2 separate regions of the Homo sapiens genome follow, and region 2 is linked to region 1. The links are contacts of gene promoters, found by promoter capture Hi-C in blood cells and fetal thymus (Javierre and others, 2016). All regions are on one chromosome and are shown on one strand. Each heading gives the region's core, a stretch centred on a gene start or on the middle of the fragment in contact. The rest is flanking DNA. Distances are from core to core; before and after follow the strand shown. Region 1 holds the start of ZMYM6 (zinc finger MYM-type containing 6). Region 2 overlaps SFPQ (splicing factor proline and glutamine rich).

Region 1 (7,275 bases), core at 1,605-4,104:
CTGAGGCAGGAGAATCACTTGAACCCGGGATGTGAAAGTTGCAGTGAGCCACCAAGATTACAACATTGCAGCAAAACTCCATCTCAAAACAAAAACAAAAAACCCTATAATGGCTATCTACTGCTCTTAGGATAAAAACCAAAATTTATAACAAGGTCTGCTACGTCCTACATAATCCAGCCTTAAACTATATATACAGCCTTATCATAGAGAAGCAGAATAGCACAAGTTCTGGAGTCTGACCACCTGGATTTGAATCCAGTCTTTGTCATTTACTACTAACTGTGATCTGTGGTAAACTATTTGGCTTTTTTGAGCTTTGGTTTCCTCATCTGTAAAATGGGGATAATAATATGGTGGTAAGAATGGTGCCTGACACACTCTTAAGCATATATAAATATTAAGTTAATAATGTCACATATGATTATGATATAATATATACTACATACTGATATACTAATGCCAGCTATTTTTATTGTTGTTGTTTTAATCATTATCATCATCACCATTTTCATACCTTTTCTGTTCCAGGCTCACTGTTCCTGCAGGTCTTAAAAAGAACCATGCATCTTTCCAACTCAGGGCTTTCCTATTCACAGTTCCCTCTGTCTGTAATACTCTTCTCCATACCCTTTGCCTAATCAATTCATTCTTCATAATTCAGCTTACACATCCTTCCCTTAGAGAGGCCTTCCCTAGCCATCCCCAGGCAGACCACAACCAAAACTAGGTCAGATTCCCCATTTTAGGCTTTTCTTCCAGAGTACTTGTCATAGTTTGTAATTATATATATTACTTGACCAATACTTTTGTAATCTCTGCCTCCTCTACTAACATATAAGCTCTACAAGGGAAGGGACTAAGCTGACTTTGCTCAATCCTGGATCCCCAGAGACTAGCACAGACCACAAATTCTTAACAGAATAAAGGAAAGTACTACCAGATACAAGAGAATTTTTTTTAAGTGACAAGTATGGAAAAATGGTAAATATATTACTTTCCTTCCACACACAAAAAAATCATGTAGTTATAGCTTTCATTCAAAGAGCAAAAAACCAGCCAGGAATGGTGGCTCATGCCTGTAATCCCAGAACTTTGGGAGGCCAAGGTGGGTGGATTGCTTGAGCTCAGGAGTTTGAGACCAGCCTGGGAAACATGGCCAAACCCCGTCTCTACCAAAAATACAAAAAAATAGTTGAGCATGTTGGTGTGTGCCCTGTGGTCCCAGCTACACAGGAGGCTGAGGTGGGAAGATCACTTGAGCCTGGGAGGTGGAGGCTGCAGTGAGCTAAGGAGATCGCACCACTGCACTACACCCTCAGCGACAGCGAGAGCCTGTCTCAGTTTGGGTTATTTTAAACTTACAAACCAGAAGCCGTTTAACTAAAATTTTTCAGTTGACCAGATGGAAAAGAAGGAATTTTTTTAAATTTTTAAATGAAGATGAAATGCTTACTTGAGCATTGTCTGGTTCTTCTTTAATTTTGTCCAGAAGCTCCTGCTGTGGTACCACTGCTTTGCCACATTCACCATCCAAAGGTTCTTTCATTCTAATTTTTTACCTCAAAGAGTGTCTCAGGCTCAAACGAATAGATTTCTTCTTGGTAATGGATAGTTGGACACCTAAAATACATACTCAGGCTTATTCTTTTTTCTTCAGGCTTATCTATATGAAAGAAAAACTTTGTGTTGAGTGCATGAGGCTTCACGGCTCGGCATTTGAAAAACAACTCTTCTGGGGCCACAACTAACTTTTTTCTTTCTTCCTGCTTTCTGTTCCTTCAGTAGCTACATAAGAAAACAGTTTTGGGGCAACAGCTCCCACTTCTCTAATATCTTTAAAGACACACAACACACTCTGGTTTTTTCCTATGTTGAAGGTTATTGAAGGGAATTAGACCAGCAGACCAAGACGTGGGAGGAAGTAATAAACTCTGAGAAGAACGGACTCAAGAAATAGTTTCTGACCCCATAAGAATCAGTACTTAGAGGCCCACGTCGGCTTTTATTTCTCAAAGAGGGGCACAACAACCTCCCGGCCCTGACCTATAACTCAACCTTCACTGGAAGCCTCCCTAAGGGCCCCATTTCTCGGCCTAACGCTAGATGTGAGCTCAAGATGCCATCCATCGCAGGCGAACAACAGGAACGCCCTTACTGAAAGTGAGTCACCTGCCTCTTTCAAGGTCTCCGTGTGAGGGGTGGGGGGCATCAAGCCCCTCAGAGCCCCGCTTCACAATCGCCTTCCTGTAGAAAAGAAACTCAATTGGCCATTCAGTAAATTCCCTTCCCCTAAAAGTCAAAGAACTAAACGGGACGAATTAAACCTAAAACAAAAAGCTCTTCAAAGTTGTCTTTATCCGAATAGTCCGGGATGGAAACGGACAACTGGTTGAAAAGCCTGTTCCAAAGAAGAAATGAGAACTTTTGCGCACTCGCCACAAAATATCTACGGGCGCTCATCCCTCCTCTGAGAACCGCACGCTTTCCGAAATTCTCCTTCCCACCAAGAATTCCCACTCCCATCATTGAGGACTAACGAGGCAATGTGGTCTCCGACTGAGAGCGGTGGACTAGCCAGTGAATGTCAACGCGTCCCTAAGGCGATATCCGCAGCCGCCCCAGCCGCGTAGCCCACCTGGCACCGCCCCCGCCGCAACGCCTCGTCACGTGGTGTGGCCTCCGCCCCGCCGTCCCGCCCACTACCACTGCGGCCGCACCCACCTTCTGTCGCCTCCCTGCTACCGGAGGAGCACTGGAATAGGAACCAAGTCCTCTGCATCTAGACAGGGATTATTTTCTCTTCTGGAATTCCGCCTGATCCATCCCAACGCAACGACCGGCCAACCACGCCTGCGCAGCCTTGGTCTCCGCCCTCTTTTCCCGTCAGGCTCCGGACCTGAGCTGAGTAGAACTTCCCAGCATTCCTCTTTCCTCAATTATGGTTCACTTCTTAAAGAGACCGAGGCTCAATAGTGAAAAGGTGGAGATGGCGTTAGAAGGCGCTGTAAGTGCTCTATAGCATTCTTTTTTTTTTTTTTTTTTTTTTTTTTTTTTTTTTTTTTTTTTGGAGACAGAGTATCACTGTGTTGCCCAGGCTGGGGTGCAGTGGCACAATCTCGGCTAACTGCAACCTCCGCCTCCTGGGTTGAAGCGATTCTCCTGCCTCAGCCTCCCGAGTAGCTGGGCTTACAGGCACGTGCCACCACACCTAGCTAATCTGTAGCATCCTTTAGTGCCCATTTCCTGAAAGGTGGCCTACTGAGAGAGCATGATATTAAATAATACTTGGCTTGCTGAGCACTTCACATGCACCATCCCACTTAATCCTCACCATTTAACCCTAAGAGGTATAATTTTTTAATCTCTTGAGATATAAATGAAAAAACTTGCTCAAAATTGAGATTTGGTTTTTTTAATTCAACATTGTTTCACAGATACGTGTATGATTTGTGACTGTTCATTCATTTTGACTGCTGTATAGTATTCTATTTTATGAATATGATACAATTTTAATCATCTACTACTGATGGACATTTGAGTTGTTTCCAATTTGTGGCTATTAGGAATAATGCTTCTGTGAACATTCTTGTCATTGGTGATGTTAAAAGACAAAATTACAACAAATTTAATTTAAATATCTCAATTAGCTTTATTTGTGATTCTAGAATCTGGCAGCACTTCATTCCATAAAATAGAACAAGTGTTCCAATGAGCTGAGCAGAAGAGGTAGGTTTTATAGACAGAGAAGGGCTGGAGAAAGCAGAAGTAAAGAACAAAAAACAGATTGGTTCATTTCAAAGTAACTTTCCAAAAAATAAATAAATAAGTTAATTTCCTTGTAAAGCAGAACCAAGAAACAAAACAATAGAGAAATAACTGATTGGTTAACATCAGGTAACTTCAGTTTATCTTTTTTTGGTAACGATTAAAGCAGAAGAAATTTCATTATTATGCTAATTGAAACTGGCACTCAGGGGAAATTAGACTCTTATTATCTCTTTTTCCTGACTTTTCAGAACTTCAAATAACAACGTAGTTTCCATTTGATGACATGGAACCTCAGTGTGAGTGACTCCATTTTGATTTTTAGTCTGGTTCATTGAGACCTACTGCAGGAGCTTAGCCCGAAACAATGGCCTACAAGTTTTATTTAACAGTGATACATATGCACACATTTCTGTTGGGTTCATACCTAAAAGTGAAATTGCTTGTTATGTATATGTAAAATTTAGGTAGATAATCTCAGGCAATTTTAGAAAATGGTGGTTTCAGTTTATACTCCCTTCAGCCATGTATGAGAGTTTCAGTTTCCCAACATCCTTGCCAATAATTACTGCTGCATATCTTTTTAATTATAACCATTCTGATGGGGGCATAGTGGTATCTCACTGTGGTTTTAATTTGCATTTCCCAGATTATTAATGAGGATGAGCCCATTTTCTTGTTCCTTGGGTATCTGGATATCCCCCATAAGTGCCTGTTCAAGTCTCTTGCTCATTTTTGTATTGGATTGACATTTTCTTATGGGCATATATTTTAGATATGAATCCTGCTATGGTTTGAATGTATGTGTCCCTTCAAAATTCATATATTGGAACTTAAACATTAAGGCGATGGTATAAGAAGTGGAGCCTTTGGGAGGGGTTAGGCTATGAGGACTCCATCCTCATGAATGGGATTCATGCCCTTACAAAAGAGGGCATTCATGCCCTTCACAAAGATTCATTCCTTTTGCCCTTTTAACCCCTCACTGTATGATAACAATGTTCCTCCCAGCAAGAGGACAACAACAAAGTTTCATCTTGGAATTAGAGAGTAATTCCAAGACAACAAATCTGCCAGTGCCTTGATCTTGGACTTGCCAACCTCCAGAACTGTGAGAAATAAATTTCTACTATTTATAAATTACACAGTCTGTGGCATTTTCTTTTGGCAATCAGGAATACACTAAGATAAGTCTTTTTTGAATATACACTAGCCCCCCTCATCCACGGTTTTGCTTTCTGAAGTCGTAGTTACCCACACTCAACCACGGTCTGAAAATATTAAATGGAAAATTCCAGTAACAAATAATTCATAAGTTTTAAACAACTTTCATTAAAGTCTATTGTTATAATTGTTCTATTGTTAGTTGTTAGTCTCTTTCTGTGCCTGATTTATAAATTAAACTTTATCATAGGTATGTATGTATAGGAAAAAACATAGCATATATAGGGTTTGATACTACTGGAGGTTTCAGGCATCTGTGGAACATCTTCGAACATATCCTCATGGATAAGGGAGGGACTACTGTATATATTGCAAATATCTTCTCCCACTCGGTAGCTTGCCTTTTCACTCTGTTATTGGTGTCTTTTGATGAACTTAAAAGACCTTTGTGGCCGGGTACAGTGGCTCATGCCTATAATAGCAGCACTTTGGGAGGCTGAGGCGGGCGGAACTCTTGAGGCCAGGGGTTTGAGACCAGCCTGGCCAACATGAGGAAACCCTGTCTCTACTAAAAATACAAAAATTAGCTGGGCATGGTGGGCACCTGTAATCCTAGCTACTAGGGAGGCTGAGGCAGGGGAATCACTTGAACCCCAGAGGCAGGGGTTGCAGTGAGCCAAGATCGCACCACTGCACTGCAGCCTGGGTGGCAGAGCAAGACTCTGCCTCAGGAAAAAAAAAAAAAATTAGCCGGGTATGGTGGTGTGCACTTATAGTCCCAGCTGCTCGGGAGGCTGAAGCAGGAGAATCACGTGAACCAGGAAGCGAAGGTTGCAATGAGCTGAGGTCATGCCACTGCACTCCAGCCTGGGTGACAGAGCAAGACTCCATCCAAAAAACAAACAAACAACAACAACAAAAAAACCCTTTGTGCTTAGTGCTTATTGTATTCTCTTAAGAAATATTTTCCTACCAAATGAAGAAAATTTCTAGAAGTGTTATTAGTCTTTCACATTTAGTTTTATAATCCATCTGTGGTTGGGTTATGTGTATAGTGTAAGGTAAGTCAGATTTCAACCTTTCCATGTGAATTTTGCATGGATTAAGCACTATTTTTTAAAAAGACTGTCCTTTTCCCCACTGTTCTGCATTGACACCTTTGTCATGTATCAGTTGTCTATATATGTGTGGGTTTATTTCAGGACTATGAAGGCTGTTCCTTTTGTTTCTCCTTGTGGAAATACCATACTGTCTTAATTTCTGTAATAGCTTTATAATAAATCTTAGTATATGATAGAAAAAGTCCTCCCTCCTATTATGTCCTTCAAGATTATCTTGGCTTTCCTTGGTCCTTTGCATCTTCATGTAAATTTTTGAATCAGCTTGTCAGTTGTGACAAAACTTTCCTTACAAATTTTAGAATCCATTGGGATTTTGTTTAGTATTATACTGAAGTGGTATGCCTGTTTTGGAGAATTGGTATTTGTTATTCATTATGTTGAATTGTGTCACCTAAAAAGATATGTTGAAGTCCTAACCCTTAGAATGGGACCTTATTTAGTCATATAGGATTGTTGCAGATGTAATTAGTTAAGATGAGGCCACACTGAAGGAAGGTGGGCGCTTCATCCATTATGACTGGTGTCCTTAAGAGAGGAGAAGATATGAAGACATACACATTGGAGGAGAACCCCATGCGATGATGGAAACAGAGATTGAAGTACTGCAGTTGCAAGCCAAGGAATGCTAAGGATTGTTGATAACACCAAAAGCTAAGAGAGGCAAGGAAAGATTCTCCCATATAGGTTTCAGAGAAAGCATGACCCTACCGATCTTTAATTTTAGACTTCTAGCCCCAAGAATGGTGATATAAATTCTGTTTGTTTTTTTTAAACCTAGTTTGTGGTACTTTATTAAAGCAGCCTTAGGAAACTAATAACAGCATTCTGTGGGGTTGAATCTTTCAATCCATAAAAATGATATATTCCTCCATTTATTTTGGTGTCTGTAATTTATCTTGATGCTTTATAGTTTTTAAGTGTAGATATTGCACACCTCTTTGTTAGATTTATTCTAGGCATTTAATATTTCATGTCATTTTAAATGTAAATTTTTATTTTCTAATTGTTTTCAGTGTAAATATAGAAATACAATTATTTTTGTATGTTGGTCTTGAAGCTAGCACCCTTGCTGAATTATTAATTAAACTAATTAATTCTAATAGTCTAGCCATTTTTCTTACTTTCTGTTTCCAGCTATGTAGAGAATAATGACCATTTTATTTCTTTCCAATTATATAACTTATTTCTTTTTCTTGCCTATTGCAGTGGCTAAAACCTGTAG
Region 2 (7,275 bases), core at 3,615-6,114, 150 kb after region 1:
AGTCCTAAGCAACAAAAGTTGTGCTTTTGAAGACTTAGGTTTTCTTGTAAACATTTTGGACTATAACATCACATCCCTAAAGCTAAGGGAACCAAATTCAAAAAGCTACTCTGAACATATGCAGTCATCCTACAGAAACGACGATGTCTTATGATTGGGAATGATTCCCAACATGTATTCGACTGTAGTCAAGTCAATGTTCCACACCACCTTCCCCCAGGTTTAGAGTATAGACACATTTAGACAAGTCCCATAACTTGAACTATTCACATTAGATTCCCATCTAAGCCCAAGTTAGTAACAATGGTGTTTTCATGAAGCCCATGTTTTTAAAAATTTTAAATCGCATTACAAAAAAACCTGTACTTTTAGTTCAACTCAACTTGTAGAATTACCAAGATTGCATAATGAAATTACTGATATTGCCGATCTATGGGCAGGTCAGTTTGCTACAATAGAGACTAATTATCACATGCTATACGGTCCATGTCAAGGTGCTAAAAGCACCCTAGTTCCCAAGTATAGTTTAGTTCCCTCTCCCCCACACCACTGATGTGTTCCATGTTATCTTCAGTTACAATGCAACTAAAGGAAACCACACAACTGAGTCAGATATACCAAAGAATCAAGTTTGCACTTTTTATCTGAGAACTGCAACAGCACTGAATTCTGCCTGACAAATTACAGCTCTAACCCCACACCCACACAGTTTTGATGTAAGCTAGCTTTACCATACAAGTGTTAGGTGCTGCACTGTAATTTCATTGTCAGAAATGTGATGCCAGAATGCCCACGGAATAAAAGTACATACAAGTCACCAAGTTAGATTATATTGCTTGTTACCTACCTGTATGCAGTCGGCAATGAGAATCTTGGAGCAAGCAGGAATACTACATCCGGGTCCTAATGTCCATTGCCATTTGCGGTACTACGTTCCTCACAGTTACGCACTGCAGAAATGCTGGCTAAATGCAGTTATGTAGCAGGCCACTACTTTAATAGTGCATAATTGCAGTCCAAGAACACCAGAAAACATTCCGCCACAACTTAGTGGCTTGCCCAAGAAAAGCCAAGTATCTAAATTTTAATCTGCCATAATATGCCACTTAAAAATTGCACAGGCGTAACATTACAATTTCCCCATTTTTTAGCTGTTTATATTAGTGGTACAATACATCTATAAAGAGTGGTGGGGTTTGTAGTACTTCTTATGAGTTTAATGTTCTAAGCAAAGAGGATTATGGTTTCACTAACATGAGCCAATGGGCTATGCTTATAAAATACCTATTAAATACACTGGGGTCTTAACAATATGCAGTTTTTAAAGATTAGGAGAAGTATAAAAAACAACCAGTGTTCCTCTTAAAACAAAATTATGAGAAAGTGGAGAAGAGGAAATGGGGACAAGTGGTTTCTTTAAATGAAAAAAATGGCTAAAATACTTCAAAAATTGCTACCTCCCCTTTCCCACCCCAAGTTTCAGATCGACTTTTAGGAAACTATTAAGATTATTTAAATTCACATTAGGCTAAAAACTATCATATATACATTGAAGACTTATTGAAAGTCTATTTGAGTAAGCTTACAACCCTGAGTACATTGCTGTTTTAGTGATGAAAGTCAAATGTCATTTGAAACTAAGCAACATTATTTGCTAAACAACGTTTAGCAACTCTACAGTCCACAGTAAGGGTATCAAAAGCCACAACTTTCAGGAGATTATCCATTAGCATCCTTCACCACTCTTCAAAGGTACAGTACTACCAAAAGCTTATTTTAGGGGGTCTGTGCCAGCATCCCTTATAAAGAAAGGCATGTAATCTGAAAAATAAACTGAAACATTAATTTTATAGGCAGATTTTCCCATTTCCCGACCAGCCCCCACCCACACACATTCAAAGTTCACCCTCTGTGGGTGTCCCATGGAACACCCCTTATTTTCTTGTCTTTAGTAGAGTCCCTACTATATAATTCAACCAAACTGTAATGGATTCCTTTCTAATCAAGACCCTTGTTTCCGTACAGAAAATCTCTTATGTATCACCAATTAATAACCTGTTTGGGGACAAAACTTCCTCACTGATATAATCATGGTAAAACTACTCATATTTCCGAGTGTGCTGGTGAATGATATAATGAGCATTACTTTCTAATGAGATTCTCTCCCTTAGCACACCATGTACCTGTCAGTCATACAACCAGTATTTGGTGAGATGCTTTTATACACTAGTGTTTACTTTCAGCATTATCCTGTTTCCTATGCAGAAAGTGCTCAGATTGTTCCAACAATAGGTCTCCTTTTGTACACAGGCACAATACTAAACTTCAGCATGTTAATAAAGGTTTGACTTAGAATTTTTCTTTTGCCAATTAGCACCAAGAAAAGAGGTGAAAAGGAGGAAGACACATTCCATAGTAAGAATTCTACAATGTACAGATTTGAATGGAACGTAACTCAGAACAAAGCCAAACCATTCAATTACTTTACCTACTGTTAGGAAGCTGTTCCTCTAACATATTTACACTGGGAAATCAGGCTCCCATTATACTAACAGGCAACAATAAACAATCTACTTTAATAGTCAAAGTCTCTTGTTCTAATGGAAGGGGGTTCAATGAAGTTGACAATTAACTGACAACACCATGGAAACATTCCAAGCCTTTATGGTGGGAGGAAGGGATATTTGTACTGTGTAGCATGAGCAACTTTCTCCAGATTTAGTGCTACATGAAAACGAAACTATGTGAAAACAAGTTAAATTTACAATAAGAATGATTATCTGCAACCCTATTTGTTAACAATCACCACTAGCTCTTAGAAGAGAACCAATAGATTTTTATAGTCCTATAGATTTTGCCCAACAGAAGTAGCACAAGGAGATGTAAAAGTTACAGAGTACAAATGTATATATAACTAAACCTACTTCAGTACTAAACCTTTTTTTTTTTTTGAGACAGAGTCTCGCTCTGTTGTCCAGGCTGGAGTGCAGTGGCAGTCTCAGCTCACTGCAACCTCCATCTCCAGGTTCAAGCAATTCTCCTGGCTCAGCCTCCCGAGTAGCTGGGATTACAGGCGCCTGCCACCACGCCCAGCTAATTTTTTGTATTTTTAGTAGAGACGGGGTTTCACCATGTTGGCCAGGCTGGTCTTGAACTCCTGATCTCATGATTTGCCCACCTCAGCCTCCCAAAGTGCTGGGATTACAGGCGTGAGCCACCGCGCCCGGCCCAGTTACTAAACCTTCTTACTTTCAAGTTTTGTTTTTTAGACTACACCCCATCTTTATAAATCACTTGAATACATGAAAAGACTTCATGTTTAACATCTTTAATTCAAATGTAAAAGTTCAATACAAGCCATTTATAGGGCTTGAGATTTGTTGGTCTTTTAAAAACAAGAAATGGGGAAATGCAACAAAATGACCTTTCCACTTTTCAAAAGCTTTCAAGTAAAGGATAGATCATAGGGCCATAAAAGATCCATTTAATCAAACCCACTTTCACCCCCTACCAATTGTCTTACACCCATTCCACAATCTTAATACATATTCCTGAAGATTTACAGTTCAGCTTTGCTTACATAACCATTTAAAAAATACTTAGCACCAGCGTGCTTCCTATATGCCAAACAAATCATCAAACTACTTCAATATGCATTTCTTCTTTTTAAAACAAAGGGGGCAATTATTTGTAGAAAGCAATACTTAGCCTCCAGATGCATTTCCCAGAAATGGCATATGCCATTCAAAGGCCTAGACACTCTCATGCTTTCAATGTGGAATACGTAGCCTAATATGCATAGAAGCATGAATGGCAAAGTTGAAGATCAATATTATAACTATTTTTCTATTTATTTGAAGCACAGTAAAAAAAAAAAAATTGGTACACTTTGGAAATTCAGTGGCACAAGGTACACTGCCATAAACTTGAGGGACATTATACAGTAAAAAAGAAAAAATAAAGAAATAAAAAGGAAAAAAAAATTCTCCTGTTCCAAACACTGCATTACATAATTTTACCTGCCCAAACAGACCATTTACAAATATTAGGTCAATAAACTGCTAACATCCATAAAAAGATAGCTTTCTTACTAAAATGCAAGAATTTAAAAGATTGGTATCTAAACAAAAAAACAAAACAAACTGGAATGAAAGCCTAAATATCACATCTAAAATCGGGGTTTTTTGTTTGGGCCTTCGTACTCTTCTCTCCCTCTACCATATCCTGCTGGAGTTCCAGGCCCCATTCCTCTAGGACCCTGTCCACCCACAGGCCCCGCACCTCCCTGCCCAAAGCGCTCAGTACGCTATTGGAACAGTAATTAACAGTTCATTATAAGTAGTTGATGTCCATGTGTGTTAAGTAAATATTTTAGAAGGTTCCGTAGTCAACGTTCGTCGATACAATCACCAATGAGTCGATCCACAGGTACCGGGAACATAGAAAGGAAAAAAGGGTAATTTGAAAATTAGTTTACGGTAATACATGCCTTGTGGTATGTTCCCACTTGAGCCATTCTCATACACCTGTTTCAAAGAACAGATCTTCCCTGTAGTGCTAAAAAATTTAAGAATTAGTGCAGATGTGAAAATCCATTCCAAAATGAGTTCTAAGAAATTTCACATCAGATTAACCCACTGAAAAACTTGCAAACTCTCACTTTCAACGTCTGAACGGAAATTTAATTTCCAAGTAAGCCTAACAAGCCCAACCAGAGATTCAATTCACTCAATGAAGTGACAAAGACCTACTCACCAGTTAGTGGCATGTGCTGCTTAAGAAACCTTGTGCTTTTCAAGATCTTAAGACACATCTGCTAAGTTGCAGAAATCTTAAAAGGTTGAAAGTTTTAATAAAATGCTACCAGACTACAAAAAGAAAAAGCATAAGACTATAGATTTAGTCACTTAACCGGCACAGTAACTTGATCAAAAAAACTTATGTTGCCAAATTCTCACAGGCACACTACCTTCCGAGCCATCACTATATAACCAGAGACAATTACGTTCTCAGTACTATTCTATATTGTTGCAAACTAAATGAACAAACCCCACCCACCTTCATCAGTCCATCTTTTCCCTTAGGTCTTTGAAAAGTGCAGACACTTTGCTGTAATTCCATGTTTTAGACACTTCCCGAACAGTGAAACACGAAGCTAAAGTAACTGCAATAAAGCAGTGAGTGACTTCACTATTCCCATCTAGTTTTAGGTAATTCTGGAGATAGAAGTTTTCAATAGAAACATATGTGCCTAAATAGCAGACCCCTCAGGTATGCAAACACAGCAGCCTACACTTTTTCTCATTCCATTTATAATAGACCAGTTACTAAGAGTATTACTCCAAATAAAAAACTAAAAGGGCATCAGGGTTTAACTGTTCCTATACACAATTTCAACATTCTTTTAAACAAAATACTATTGAGCTACTCAACATGACTAAACTTTTATCCTTTGTTTTTCAAAATCTTATAAATTACAGGGTTTTTGGCTCATTGTTCTGTGTTCTACCTCTAAGAACTTAAAAAAAAGAAAAAGTTGGGGCTTTCATAATTATGTTAATTACACCAGCTGAGAACCCAGGAGCTATCAGCTACCTGTTATCTAGAATATAAACCTTTAATTGTGAGAACATAAGGTCAAATTAGATTTTACACATTACCTAACAATCTGTCTTTAGGAAGAATATAAACCAAAATGTTACCCACATACTCTGAAAAATCTAAAGAAAGCCCATAGTATTACATTTTACCCAACCAGCCATTTATAATTCTAACTTTAATTCCCAAAAAGTCTTAGGTAGATTATAAACAGGTGAGGCCTTATACAAAATCCTTATGTTTCTATTTATAAAATGAATCTTATGAGCTACTCACTGCAGCTCCCCTCCTTTGCCAAAAGCCTGTAGTGAACTCATCACATTCAACTCAGCTATAAAAATGCACTCTCTAAACCCACCAAAATTCAGTCCTAACGATTTGTAAAGCCCTAATGCAGCCACTCATACCAGTTCAACTGATTGTTCTAAGCATCTGACAGGCTATATTCACAGCTGAAACATGATAGCATCAAGAAGGTTCAGATCAAATGCACACCATTAGTATGCTTAAAAATTGTTGATTTTTGCTACTCTGTAGCAAAATGGAGATGTCAGTTGATTTTAGAAGGTATACCTACAGACAGGCCCAACAGGTGGGAAACGACGAGTCAAAACACTCAATTCCCTTTTCATAGGATAGAAGCCACACCAAATATAGGTCAAAGTCCTACACATCACTAAAACGTGCCTAAAGCTTCAAACTACAAGTCTGATTCCTACTTATGGCAAATACCAGCTTAAAGAATGAGTTTGCCATTTGATTATTCTCACTTGGATGTAGAATAATCAGATACATTATCTAGCATCTAGAATTTGGATTTGCCATGCACTAGAGTTCAAAAGCACCTAAATCTACTTATTGCCAAAGGTAATTCCACATAATACTAACAGCATTGACTCCTTGTTGGCAACCGTTATCTGTTTAGGTTACCACACACCGAGTTCTTCTATGTTGCCAAAGTATTCCTCAATATTACATATTTATGTATGAAATTGGTAGGGGAAACTAAAAGAGGTCCAGTCACCTACTTAAAAAAACAAAACAAAACAAAACAAACACACCTAAGTTGTGAAAATGAGAATTTCCTTGGTACTACGTCCCACAGGATACATTACCATGTCACTTCCCATCATGGAACCACTCATGGTTGCTGGTGGAACGCCAGGATTAGCTTCATAACCTATGCCACCACCACCTCCTAGAGGTGGAAATTTCTGGCCTCCTGAACCATAGGGATCTAGAAAACAAAAATAGTGGTTACAACTCCACCAGGATACTACTCTCTACTTATATCATTAATTTAAATTTCACACTTACCTCCCATGTTCATTGCTCCTCCGCCACCCATTCGCATGTCTCTTTCCCGCTGCAAGAAAAAAATTCCTTTCAATATACCTGCACTATACCCACAGCAAGCATTCTTAAGAACTGAGAAATTTTCAAGAGTTAAATAAAAAACATGGTAAAGTTCAAAAGTTCATCATGTGAATTATTTTTGAAATCAATATTCTGAAAACTAAGTTAGACTCAATTATCCAAAGACCTACAAAACTTCCTATTCAAGGCCGGGAGCAGTGGCTCACGCCTGTAATCACAGCACTTTGGAAGGCCGAGGCAGGCAGATCACCTGAGGTCAGGAGTTCAAGACCAGCCTGGCCAACAAGGCGAAACGCCATT

What was found. Contacts are between HindIII fragments. The CHiCAGO score rates a contact against its expected background, and 5 or more counts as called.
Region 2: a contact is called between a fragment that was not itself captured here and the fragment with the promoter of ZMYM6 in region 1, in 1 of 17 cell types (M2 macrophages). The highest score is 6.3, in M2 macrophages.

What each region holds. Positions count from the first base shown.
Region 1 is chr1:35,029,091-35,036,365 of GRCh38, forward strand. ZMYM6 (zinc finger MYM-type containing 6) reads right to left here and starts at 2,855. Exons shown (of 16, transcript NM_007167.4): 1 at 2,725-2,855; 2 at 1,457-1,623. The coding sequence starts at 1,549. It overlaps LOC124903990 (a long non-coding RNA gene), which reads left to right and starts at 3,630. Exons shown (of 2, transcript XR_007065739.1): 1 at 3,630-4,067. RefSeq lists enhancers at 2,157-2,683, 2,684-3,208, 2,865-3,044 and a silencer at 2,575-2,694. The HindIII fragment of the contact is 24,078 bases long and covers 1-7,275 here.
Region 2 is chr1:35,180,288-35,187,562 of GRCh38, forward strand. SFPQ (splicing factor proline and glutamine rich) reads right to left here. Exons shown (of 10, transcript NM_005066.3): 8 at 6,916-6,964; 9 at 6,714-6,835; 10 at 2,649-4,306. The coding sequence ends at 4,169. Among named protein-coding and RNA genes, the nearest start is that of SFPQ, 9.2 kb to the right of the region's middle. The HindIII fragment of the contact is 2,849 bases long and covers 3,441-6,289 here.